2 separate regions of the Homo sapiens genome follow, and region 2 is linked to region 1. Evidence: promoter capture Hi-C in 16 types of primary human blood cells and fetal thymus (Javierre and others, 2016). All regions are on one chromosome and are shown on one strand. The core of a region is centred on a gene start or on the middle of the fragment in contact, and the rest is flanking DNA. Distances in the headings are between cores, read along the strand shown. Region 1 holds the start of SPESP1 (sperm equatorial segment protein 1). Region 2 has its middle 54 kb from the start of CORO2B.

Region 1 (6,507 bases), core at 1,870-4,369:
CAGGTGATCTGCCCGCCTCAGCCTCCCAAAGTGCTGGGATTACAGGTGTAAGACACCGTGCCCGGCCTGTGCATTTTTTTTTTTTTAAAGCAAAAAGAATTCTCATTAAAAAGTAAAGTAAGTTGCACAGTGCAAATACATTAAAGAGGGAATACATTAAATACTTTCCCATTCAAAAATTTAAAAATGGCAAAGTATTTAAAACTATGGAAAAATCAGGTAGAGGAAACTGAATGTATAAAAATTTTATATAGTAAAACGTTGTTTCTCCAGCACCATCAGGATGTGTGTGTGTGTATGTAAAGGAGTGCCGACTTCTGTATACCCAAGCTGCATTTATGTCTAACTGAATTTAGATTAAACAAATACTAGCTAAGCTTGGATTGGGCCTGTTAGAAAGGTATAGGCAGATACAAGAAGTACTGAGGTTTTCAATAAATGCAATTACTTAATACACCCGTGATGTTTGCGTAATAACCTCAAAACTGTCTAGTAGTCTAGAAAAAATGTGTCAAAGCTGCACTTTTCATTATAAAAACCTATGTACCTTATCTTTTGCATCTCGCCAACAATTGTTTGAATAGTGGCCATATAAAAGAATGCATAGCTGATTTACATCAAGCTCAATGATATACGCATTTTGGTATACTTATTTTAAAAACAAAATTAAAATTAGAGAAAAAGTAGAGAGACAGATACAGAGAAAGCAGCCATGTACCACTGCCTGCTCTATATATTCCTTAATCCACTTCTGTAGAAGAAAGGTAATTACATATTCCAAGACATCTTCTATGATTACAACCTGTATATAGTTTCCTTATGTCTTATAACATCTATATATTCAACACAAAATCACTCCTTTTTTCTGGGAAGCGTCTTTTCATTTCCTACAACCCTTTTCTTTCTTCCCAAGAAAGATTAGGGAATAGGGTGCTAAGAAAGACAACAGGCTGGCTGGGCACAGTGGCTCAAGCCTGTAATCCCAGCACTTTGCAAGGCCGAGGCGGATGGATCATTTGAGGTCAGGAGCTCGAGACCAGCCTGGCCAACATGGTGAAACCCCGTCTCTACTAGAAATACAAAAATTAGCCAGGCGGTAGTGGCGTGCGCCTATAATCCCAGCTACTCAGGAGGCTGAGGTGGGAGAATCCCTCGAGCCTGGGAGGCAGAGGTTGCGGTGAGCCGAGATCGGGCCACTGCACTCTAGTCTGAGCTAGAGAGTGAGACCCTGTCTCAGGCAAAAAAAAAAGGGGGGGAAAAGGGAAGGGGAGGGGGAGGGGAAAATTATGGTGTTAGGCAAGAGACTGCACTGAGTTAAGTGGGTGTCCAGGGACTCCTACCTAGCAGTCCCAGAGTGTACTGTGTGACAGTGTTAAAGTCACTTCAGTTAAAGTCTCCATATATGTTAGTCACTTGTGACTTGCTGATCTACAACTACCAAAATGCAATAACTGGTGTTAGTAATAATGATCATCAGACATCAAGAAAAGATAGTAGCATCTTCATTATGTTCTGGTCCTCTATGTCAAGGAAGAAAAATTTTACAAAACTTTTTATTAAAAACAGCTACAAATCATAAATGCTAGTATTTAAAGAGCTAACTTTAGTTACCTAGAACTTCATCTAGAACTTTTCCCATTACTATTCATAATTTAGATTGTGTTGTATTTTCAGTTTTTAAATTTGATTTTTAACTAAGATCGTTTAGCAATTCTGAAAAATAGATTTGCATAATCAGCATGCACGATAGCGCTTTTTTTACACCTGTTAAATTGTATTTATTGATTTAAGTGAAACCAAACTCCAACATTACTAAATGCCACAATGAACTACAGTTAGACTAAATGGGGAAGCCTCACCTACCTGACTTAAATACTAAGTGCCTTAAGGTGCCCACATGATATTGTTAATATAGTAAAGTCTTAGCACCCCTGAATTTGACCTTATTGGTTTTCAGCTTTCGGGGAGGGACAAAAATTGCTCCTTGGCAGGTCTTAAGTTATAATCCTGCTTAACTAAGGCTTTGAATGCCGTGTGCGCAAGCATGCTCTCTGGGAGCGCATCCTCAGGTGAGTGTCCCAGACCGCGACCCACAATCCACATGCTCTCCAAATTTTACCGTACGGGTCAACCTTTTTTTCTGTACAGGGCCAGAGAGTAAATACTTCAGTCTTTGCAGACCAGACTGTGTGGCAACCACTTAACCCCGTTGTTCTAACGTGGGAAAGCAGCCATGGGCAATACGTAAAGGAATGAGCGTGGTGGTGTGCCAGTAAAACTTTATTCACGAACAATGAAATGTGAGCGTCATGCTTTTCCACAAGTCATGAAAGAGTACATTTCATATTTACTTTGAAAATGCAAAAATAGAACATCACACACCAGGGCCTGCCGTGGGGTGGGGGGAGGGGGGAGGGATAGCATTAGGAGATATACCTAATGTAAATGACAAGTTATGGGTGCAGCACACCAATATGGCACATGGATACATATGTAACAAACCTGCACGCTGTGCACATGTACCCTAGAACTTAAAGTATAATAATTAAAAAAAAAGGAAGAAAATGTAAAAATCATTCCTAGCTGGCCAGCAGCTGTCACACGACCCCTGCACGGTCACACGCCCAATGGCTGGGGAAGGATCGGGTGGGCAGAGGAAGGCCTCCGGTGAGGTGAGGGGGTTCCACCCGCGCCCACGGCCCGCAGGCGCTTCCCGTCTCATCTGGGCCGCGCCGCCTCAGTTGCTGCGTTCCCTGACCAGGAGAGGAGAGGGACACCCCTCGGCGTCGAGGCCAGGACCCCGGACAGTGGGGGAGGGAGGCATGTAGGACCAGGGAGAAGGAAGGGCCAGGCTTCGAGGTCGCGGAGCTCGGGAAGTTCCCCCAGGGTGTCCCCGGTCCGCTGCCTCCTCAGGCCCGTCACTCACTCGGATAAGCCGGCACAGACGAAGGCCATAGCAAAAGCGCAACTAGAAGGACTAAGGGCTTCATAGGCGTCGTCCGTAGCACTCTGCCATGCGACCGGAACGTCCTGGGGCCACCAGGCTGGGAACCTCAAGGCCGAAAGGGAAGGTGTCAGCGGAGTACCGTCCTGCCTCAGGCCCTGGGACACCCAGCAACGGTTGTCCCCAGCGCGCAAGCGCAGCGGCATGGGGGAGGGGAGAGCGAGCGGCCAAGGCCCGCCCCTCCTGGGACCGCGTGCAGGGGGCGGGGGATCGCGCGCGCCCCGCCCCGCCCCTTCCTAGTGCGCATGCTCGCTCCGCCTTCGTAGGTCCGCGCCTGGTGTGGGCTGGGAACGCCTCGACGCCCGGCTACTGCGTGCGGGGTGCTGCCTCGGGGCGTGCGGGGCTCGGCCCATCCTGCGCGGTAGGGATACCGCCGTGGTTTAAACGCGGTCCCTGTGAGGAAGGAACTGTAATGGGAGAGGCAGATAACCTGGCAATTACCACAGCGTGAAAGGGGGCTGTAGTGGGGGAAGCGCTAGGTACTGTTGTGCACAGTGGAAACCCACCCCCGGAAGCGGGTGGGGAGCTTGGCTAAGTGGAGGACAGCTTGGAGCACCCCAAGAACTGAGCATAGTTCCGGCGAGTTGCATTGTGGGGCTTGGGAGGGCAGTTGTTGGAGGACAGGGAGGAGAGGTAGGCAAGGGCATTAAAAACGCCCTAAGGGGCTTGGGTGTTTTTGTTTTTCAAAAGATCACATTCCATTTCTTTGACCTTCTTAAAAAGATAGGGGTAGGGATGAGGGAGAGTACGACTATGAAAGGATAGCATGAGGTTGTTTTGGGGACTAATAGATGGCAGTGGCCACAAGAATCTATACATGTGTTAAAATTCACAGAAGGCCGGGCACGGTGGCTCACTCCTGTAATCCCAGCACTTTGGGAGGCCGAGGTGGGCGGACCACCTGAGGTCAGGAGTTCGAGACCAGCCTGACCAACATAGTGAAACTTCGTGGCTACTAAAAATACAAAATTAGCCAGGCGTGGGTGGTGGCACACGCCTGTAGTCCCAGCTACTTGGGAGACTGAGGCAGGAGAATCACTTGAACCCGGGAAGCAGAGGTTGCAGTGAGCCGAGATCGTGCCACTGCACTCCAGCCTGGGCGACAGAGCAAGACTCCACCTCAAAAAAATAAATAAAAATAAAAATTCGCAGAACTGCACATCCCAAAGAATCTGTTTTTCTGTATGGTTATTTTTAAAAATTCACGTACACTCATCTCTGCCTCAGGAAGCAAGGGGCTTGGATTTTAGTCTGAGGCACCAGTACTAGAGTACTGCTAGGTTTTGAGCTGGGAACGGTTGTGATTAGATTTGTATTCCAGAAAACTCACTCTTCCTGTAGCATGAAGAATGGACTGGAGGGAAGCAAGACTAGAGGCGCCGGCGGAAACTGAGACTGCGCACGGCGCTTGCGGGCCAGCCCGAGTTCCGGGTGGGCGTGGGCTCGGCGGGCTCGGTGGGCCCGGCACTCAGCGCGGCCGGCCGTCCCCGCTGGCCACGGGCAGTTGGGGGGAGCTTAGCACCTGGGCCAGGAGCTGCTGTGCTCGATTTCTCGCCAGGCCTTAGCTGCCTCCCCGCAGGGCAGGGCTCGGGACCTGCAGCCTGCCATGCCTGAGCCTCCCTGAGGAGCGCCGCTCCCTGCTCCACGGCGCCCAGTCCCATCGACCGCCCAAGGGCTGAGGAGTGCGGGCGCAGGGCCGGGGACTGGCAGGCAGCTCCACCTGCGCCTGGGTGTGGGATCCACTGGGTGAAGCCAGCTGGGCTCCTGAGTCTGGTGGGGACTTGGAGAACCTTTATGTCTAGCTAAGGGATTGTGAATGCACCAATGGGCACTCTGTGTCTAGCTCAAGGTTTGTAAATGCACCAATCAGCACCCCGTGTCTAGCTAATCTAGTGGGGACTTGGAGAACTTTTGTGTCTAGCTCAGGGATTGTAAATGCACCAATCAGCACCCTGTCAAAACGGACCAATCAGCTCTCTGTAAAGTGAACCAATCAGCAGGATGTGGGTGGGGCCAGATAAGGGAATAAAAGCAGGCTGCCCGAGCCAGCAGTAGTAACCCTATGGAGTCTCTTTCTGTCGTGTGGAAGGTTTGTTCTTTCGCTTTTTGCAATAACTCTTGCTGCTGTTTACTCTGGGCCCACACTGCCTTTATAAGCTGTAACACTCGCTGCGAAGGTCTGCCGCTTCACTCCTGAAGCCAGTGAGACCACGAACCCACCGGGATGAATGAACAACTCAGATGGGCCACCATAAGAGCTGTAACACTCACCATGAGGGTCTACAGCTTCACTCCTGGTCCAGCTAGACCACGAATCCACCAGAAGGAAGAAACTCCAAACACATCCGAACATCAGAAGGAACAAATTCCGGACATGCTGCCTTTAAGAACTGTGACACTCACCACGAGGATCCACGGCTTCATTCTTTAAGTTAGACCAAGAACCCACCAATTCCGGACACATGTTGAGGAACCAATGTCTCCAGCCAACAGCCAGTAAGGACCTGAGGCCTGACAACAATCAGGTGAGTGAACTTGGTAATAGATTCTCCCCAGGTGAGCCTGGAGTTGACCACAGCCCGGCTGACATCTTGATTGTAGCTGCCTGAGAAACCCAGAGATGGAGGCACCCAGCTAAGCCACGCTTAGATTCCTGACTCACAGAAACTGTAAGACAGTAAGTGCTTGTTAAATGGAGGAGGAGAAAGCATTTGCGTAAGCAATAGCTACATACAAGGGTCTCTGTTGATTTGTTCCTTGAAAGAGACCATGCTTGGAAAGGCACCTGCAGTTGGGTACACTACTTAATTGAGTTAATAATTGTCAGTCATTCTTCCAGGTCCATCTGTTTTCATTACCAGTCAAGCTGGAAGGCAGGTATAAATTAAGATAATTGATTCAGATATTTTAGGGTGACACTATAGCTAGTCAACAAGGGATTGTTATAACTTGTGCATTACTATTTTGATTGGGGGTTGGAGAGTGTAATAAAGCTCTGTGGATTCTTCATAGTCTTTTCTATCTTGCTCACCCTTGTTCTAAAGGTTAGGAAACCAATGTGAAGATTCTGCCTTATGTCCTTTAAATGTACACTCAGGAATTGGGGAAAAAACACTGGAAGGGTTTAGGGTTCCATCGAACTTACTGTAAGGTGGACTTGGGTTAAAATTCCTTTAATTACTTCACCCCTGTAAACCCCACTCTAACCAGTGAACTACTGTGGCATACTGCGATTTTCCTTTTTTTTCAGTGCATATTTATCCCTAGATGATCACTGGTCCCTTTGGAGAAGGCTAGGAGTTAAGAATCACAGCACATACTTATCTCATTGTATTACTACTGAATTCGTCAAGGGTTTCCTGCTTTCCCTTCACTTAGGAGACTGGATTTGTGAAACACACTGCAGTTTGGGGATTGAATGAGGAACTGCAAGTGAGAGGTTCAAGTAGGATGTCTTTTAGGCCCAGAGTTGGAGTCGTTTTTCCCTTGTTTGGTTATAAAAA
Region 2 (6,507 bases), core at 2,086-4,585, 410 kb after region 1:
ACAAAATATGTGTAAGATTTATACTTTGAAAACTACAAAATACTGCTGAGAGAAATTTTAAAAGAACTAAATAAAGGGAGAGCTATAATATGTTCATGGATTGGAGTATTGCTAAAATGTTAATCCACTTCATATTGACTGATAAAATTTCCGAGGCTTTTAAAAGTAATTGTCAAGCTTAGTGTAAAATTTATATGCAAAAGATTTAGAAAATCTGCAACAATTTTGAAAAAGAAAAACAAAGTTGGAGGACTTATATTACCTGATTTTCGAACTTATTACAAAGCTACAGTAATGAAGAGAGTGTGGCACTGGCATCAAATTAGTCACATAGATCAATGGAATAGAATAAAGAATCAAAAATAGACTCACAGATACATGGTCAATTGATTGTTAACATATTTCAATAAAGGAAAAGAGAGTCTTCCAACAAATTGCACTGGAATAATTAGATATTCATATGAGGAAAAAATAAACCTCACATAAAAATGAACCCAAAACAGGAAAAAGATCTAAAGGTGGAAGATAAAACTGTTAAACTGATAGGAAAAAAAAATAGAAGAAAATCTTTTCAACTTTGGGGTAAGCAAGGATTGCCTAGCTGGGAAAGAAAAATTAAAAAACCACAAAAGAAAAAATTCATAACTTGGTTTTTCTATTAATTTGTTAGGGCTGCCATAATAGAATACCACAGACTGGGTAACTTACATAACAAGTACCTGTTGGGGGCTGTTAAGTCCAAGATCAAGGGGCTGGCAGGTTTGGTTTCTACTGAGGCCTCTGTCTTTGGTTTTCAAACAGATGCCTTCTCACTGTGTCCTCCCACGGCCTTTTCTCTCTGCACACACCTCTCTGGTGTCTCTTCCTCTTTTTGTAAGGAAATCAATCCTATTGTATGAGGGCCCTACCCTATGACCTCATTTAATCTTGATCATCACCTTCAAGACCCTGTCTTCAAACACAGTCACACTGGAGGTTAGAGCTTCAACATAGGAATTTTGGGGGACCATGATTCTGTCGAAAACAGAACTTTAAGTTGGTGCCTTTTACTAGGTACACATACACAAAGACACTATATTTTAATAAAGTAAATAAAGAAATCTTTTTCAACATTTAAAACTTCTGCTCTTTGAAAAACATCTTCAGTAAAGGAAAAGACAAGCCACAGGCTGGGAGGAAATATTCATATAGCTGACAAAAGCTATATGTAAAGTGAACATTATATCCTGAATTTATAAAGAACACTTAGAACTCAATAATAACAAAAAATTTGAAAAATGCTCAATAGATTAAAAAAGATGGTTCCCAAAAGAAGATGCACCAATGGCCAATAAGCATGTGAAAAGATGCTCAGCATCATTAGTCATCCTGGAAATGAAAGCCTAAACCACAATGAGGTATGACTACACACCCATTAGAATAGTTAGTATTTAAAAGCTGACAATCCAAGAATTGGAAGGATGTGGAGCATTGCTGGTGACAGTCTAAAATGGTATAGCCCCTTCAGAAAATTTTAGAAATTTCTTATAAACTTAAATATACATTTATTATATGACCCAGCAATTGTACCCCTAGGCATTTACTCAAGAGAAATGAAAACGTGTCTATATGAAGACCCATCTGTAAGTGTTCATAACATCTTAATAAAAACCAAAAACGAAAACCAACCAAAATGTACATGCATAAACTGGTGAGTGGATAAATAAATTGTGGTACATGCATATAATGGAATCATGCTCAACCATAAAAAATGACTATTGATACATGAAACCACATGGATAAGTCTCAGAATAATTACGCTGAATGAGAGAAGCCGGGTGTGAAAGAGTACATACTTATGACTTCATTCATTTGAAACTCTAGAAACTCCAGAAATAACAAATCTGTGTTCCAGTGACAAAAAGCTGATCAGTGGTTGCCTTAAGCTGGTTGTAAGAGTGATTGATTGGGACACAACATATGCAAACTTTTTGGGCAGAAGAAGTGTTTTATATCTTGATTTTGATGTTGTACATGAATGTATACATTTGTAAAAACTCATCGCACTGTCAGCTTTAAGTTGGTGCATTTTAACACGTTATAATTTAATAAAGTAAATAAAGTTGATTAAAATTATTTTAAAAAAATCCAGCAAGCCCAGTTTGACTCTCTGCCCAGCAGCTTATTTTGTAAACAAAGTTGATAATTTTGACCCATTTTGGGGGTTTTGGTTTCTGTTCTGGGGATAGATATGAATTAGGCTGAATTTGAGACAAGAGTCTGGAGATTTTGATTGAGTGAGCAAGTAACAGAAATTACATTTCTACTTTTTAACAAATGAAAAATATTTTCACTAAACCCTGCAAAAGGCTCTGTCAAGAATCGAGTTAGCTTCAGCTGGGTAACTTACAAAGCCTTCTTGAGTCCTCCCATGACCCAGAATAAGGGGAAACTGTCCTTTTCCAAATTCTGACAGACTCACTAGTAATTTGCTTCAAAACATCTGTAGTCCTTCCTGACTTTTCCAGCAATGTTTCACAGAAAGCTCTTCTTTTCTTTTCAAAATGCTTCAGAATTTACTTTGAAAATGAAGTTTGTATCTGTCCCCCGTCCCCCCTGAATTTTGAGTGACTTATTTCAGAACTGGCTTCAATTTACATGCCTGTCATTTTAGACCATAATAAGCCCCATTAACTGTTATATGATGTCAGTTTGCTTTATTTTTGTTTTTGGGGTTTTTTAGGGGGAATGGGAGGAGGGTTAAGCTGCCTGTCTGAGAGTGGCAGATTTGGCTGATTTAGTTATACCCAGATGTGCCTAAATATAAGACAGAGAGGAATAAATACTGAGTAGGAGTTTTAGTGAATTTATGTTGTATTTCTCATAAATTCCTGTGGGTTCCTTTTGGCACCAGAATTTAATTTATTATTCTCTGTTCCTTTTTAAATAAAATCTGATGCAACAGTTAAGGGCTAGGCTCAGGCTGGGAGCCTCTGCCTCTGATCAGCTGCTGCAACATAATATAAATCAATTCGGCAAGTAATACCAGAGCATCTACTGTGTATTTAGACCTTTAGTGAGTCCCGTGGAGTGTTCAGGAAAATGTTCTGGCTTCAGGGAGCCTCCAACAGAAAAGAAGCATAAATGGTGACTAGACTTTGAGCTGGAAGAGCTAAATTTTAGTTAGGCCTCCTCTACCTAATTACCGGCCTTAGAAGAATTTATTTAACTTCTTGGTTAAAGAAATTTTTATGAGCTTCAATGTCTTCATTTGCAAAATGGAAAAAATATCCCTACTTTCTCCACAGTATCAAGGCAGGGTTCAAAGAAGGGAATGCTTAGCATGGCGCTTTTAAAAAGGTACATGCAATAAAATGGTGAAGTTCATTTATTAGAGTATGATTGGGGAGATAAGCCCATCTTATCTCAGCAAAAAGTGCATGAAAGAATTTATGATTTAGTTATTTCCTCATAGAACAGCAAAAAGGGATTAGGGAAAACAATAGATTTTTATTAATATTAATATCATTAAAACAAGATTTTAAAAGCTACAAGAGTCATACTTTTACTTCTGGTTACAATAAAGTAACTTGTGTCAGACCAAAGTTTCTAGTGAAATAAACTTAAAAAGCTGGAATTTTTTCTTTTCTTTTTTTTTGAGACAGGGTTTTGCTCTGTTGCCCAGGCTGGAGTGCAGTGGTGCAATTATGGTTCACTGCCACCTCCTGGGCTCAAGCGGTCCTCTCATCTCAGCCTCCCAAGTAGTTGGGACTGCAAGCATGCACCACCACACTCAGCTAATTTTTTAATTTTTTATAAAAATGAGGTCTCACTATGTTGCCCAGCCTGGTCTTGAACTCCTGGGCTCAAGCAATCCTCCCACCTTTGCCTCCCAAAGTGCTTGGATTGTAAGCATGAGCCACTGAGGCCAGCCTTGGAAAAAAATATTTTTAAAAATATCTTTGAAGAATTGTAGGACACCCAAGGCAACCACTATTTAAGGGGCCAAGATTTTGGAGAAAAAAAAGGAAGTTCTTTGAAAGATCTCAATATCTGGTCATCACTTTTCCCCTTGGGATATGGGAGGCTGCAGGGCCTGGTAGGGTTTACCCACAAAGAAGCAGAGAAGCCAGCAGAGCTTTAGGCTATCTGATAGAGCAGAGGAACAAAAAAGGACAGTTCTAGGCTCCCAAGGCAGCTGACTTGAGGAGCCAAGGTCCAAGAGACAATGGAGGCACAGAAAACTAAACCTGACAGTTAGCATTTTTCCACTTGAGGTATTTGTCAATTCTTGGCTGTGCAGGGTGAGAAGCTAAGAAACTAAACAAAAGGTAGTTGGGAAACCTTTCATGGTCTCTGGGAGACAAAAATTGGAATTTAGGGCTGGGTACAGTGGCTCATGCCTATAGTCCCAGCACTTTGGGAGGCTGAGGAGGGAGGATTGCTTAAGCCCAGGAGTTCAAGACCAGCCTGGGCGACATAGGGAGACCCCCATCTCTACAAAAAATTAAGAAATTAGTTAGGCATGGAGTCGTGTGCCTGTGGTCCTAGCTACTTAGGAAGCTGAGGTGGGAGGATCACATTGAGCCTGGGAGGTTGAGGCTGCAGTGAGCCATGATTATGCCATTCCACTCCATCCAGCCTGAGTGACAGAGTGAGACCCTGTCTCAAAAAGAAAAAAGAAAAAAGAAAGAAAAGAAAAAGAAAGAATTTAGGATTTTCTAAGAATGAGTGGCCGACCCAAGAAATACCCCTGGACCTGGATGGCTATACTCTTGGAGGAAAAATGACAAGAGAAAGAACAAATTTGTAAAGACTAAAACCAACTTCAAGTCAGTTCAGCCCTTGATTGAATGGAGGTAAACAAACAGCCCCTACTCTAACTGCATGCCAGAGAATAGAATGAACCCTCTATAGAAGAAGATGTTATCATCCAAAGTCTCCACATGTTTTAATATAAACTCTCCAGTATTCAATAAAAAATAGTAAGTATTCCAAGTTACAAGACCAAGAGAAAAAACAGGCAAGAAAAACACGCAGGAAAAATAAACCCATATGTGACTTACATATTAGGGTTATTGGACACTAAAACAACTGTGATTAATATGCTCATAAAAAGATATAACAAGATGAAGAATTTTGCTTGAGAACAACAATCTATTTTTAAAAATCAAGCAAATTCCAAAACTGAAAAGGAATATAATTGATGAAACCAGTCTGACCATCATGGTGAAACCCCGTCTCTACTAAAAATACAAAAATTAGCCAGGCATGGTGGCACGCACCTGTAATCCCAGCTACTCAGGAGGCTGAGGCAGGAGAATCGCTTGAACCCAGGAGGCAGAGGTTGCAGTGAGCTGAGACTGTGCCACTGCACTCCAGCCTGGATGACAGAGCGAGACTCCATCTCAAAAAAAAGAAAGAAAGAAAAAGAATTCAATAGATGGCTCAACAATAGATTGGCACAGCTGAAGAGGATTAGTTAAGTTGTGCTTAAAGAGCATATAAGAGATATATGAGACATGGTGGAGAGTTTGAATATTAACACAATTGGAGTCTCAGACGAGAAAGAGAGAAGAATGGAGAAGAAGTGGTATTTAAAGAGATATGGAAATAATGACTAAGAATTTTCCAACAATGCCAAGACATCAAGCTAGAGATTCAAGAGTACTACAAAGTCCAAGCAAGAAAGAAAATGACATCTAGAAACATCATTGTGAATCTTTGAAAATTACAGGTAAAGAGAATATTCTTTAAAGGAGTCCATGGGGCCAGGCATGGTGGGTCACGCCTGCAATCCCAGCACTTTGGGAGACTGAGGTGGGAGGATTGCTTGAGTTCAGGAGTTAAAGACCAGCCTGGGCAACATAGGGAGACCTTGTCTCTACAAAAAATTTTACAAATTAGCCGGGTGTGGTGGCACATGCCTGGTCTGTAGTCTCATCTACTTGAGAGGCTTTCGTATTTTTTTCATTGGAGACGGGGTTTTGCCATGTTGGCCAGGCTAGTCTCAAATTCCTAACCCATCTACTTGCTTGAGCCTGGGAGGTCGAGGCTGCAGTGAGCCACTGCTGCACTCCAGCCTGGGTGATAAAGTGAGAAAGAAAAAAAAAAACAAAAAAGAAAAGAAAAGAAGTATATAGTGAAAAGACACATACCTTCAAAAGCACAATAAAAAGATGAAAGCCAGAAGACAATGGAATGATATCTTCAAATTTATAAAATAAAAATAATTGACAATCTAGGATTCTATAGCCAGTGTAAAAACTTTCAAAGTGTATGCGAAATAAAGTTATTTCTAGACAGGCAAGAGTAAAATGACCCCAGATGGCAAAAAAGGAAATGTAAGAAGGAATGAAGAACAACGGAAAGGGTGAATATGTGGGTACATCTAAATAAACATTGACTTTACAAGAAAATAATGTAATGTGACATTCAAAATATATATAGAACTAAAATGTAGACAATAATAACACAAAAAGTAGGGGAATGAGTTAAAATGTACCAAGCTTGTGGCACTGTCCAGAA

What was found. Contacts are between HindIII fragments. The CHiCAGO score rates a contact against its expected background, and 5 or more counts as called.
Region 2: a fragment that was not itself captured here is called in contact with the fragment with the promoter of SPESP1 in region 1 in 1 of 17 cell types (M2 macrophages); the score reaches 7.4 in M2 macrophages.

The regions. Positions count from the first base shown.
Region 1 is chr15:68,927,137-68,933,643 of GRCh38, reverse strand. It overlaps SPESP1 (sperm equatorial segment protein 1), which reads right to left and starts at 3,119. Exons shown (of 2, transcript NM_145658.4): 1 at 2,927-3,119. The coding sequence starts at 2,990. It overlaps SPESP1-NOX5 (SPESP1-NOX5 readthrough), which reads right to left and starts at 3,119. Exons shown (of 17, transcript NR_033672.2): 1 at 2,927-3,119. RefSeq lists a silencer at 6,243-6,443. The HindIII fragment of the contact is 10,282 bases long and covers 380-6,507 here.
Region 2 is chr15:68,521,350-68,527,856 of GRCh38, reverse strand. It overlaps a transcript of CORO2B not described here. Among named protein-coding and RNA genes, the nearest start is that of CORO2B, 54 kb to the left of the region's middle. The HindIII fragment of the contact is 6,311 bases long and covers 180-6,490 here.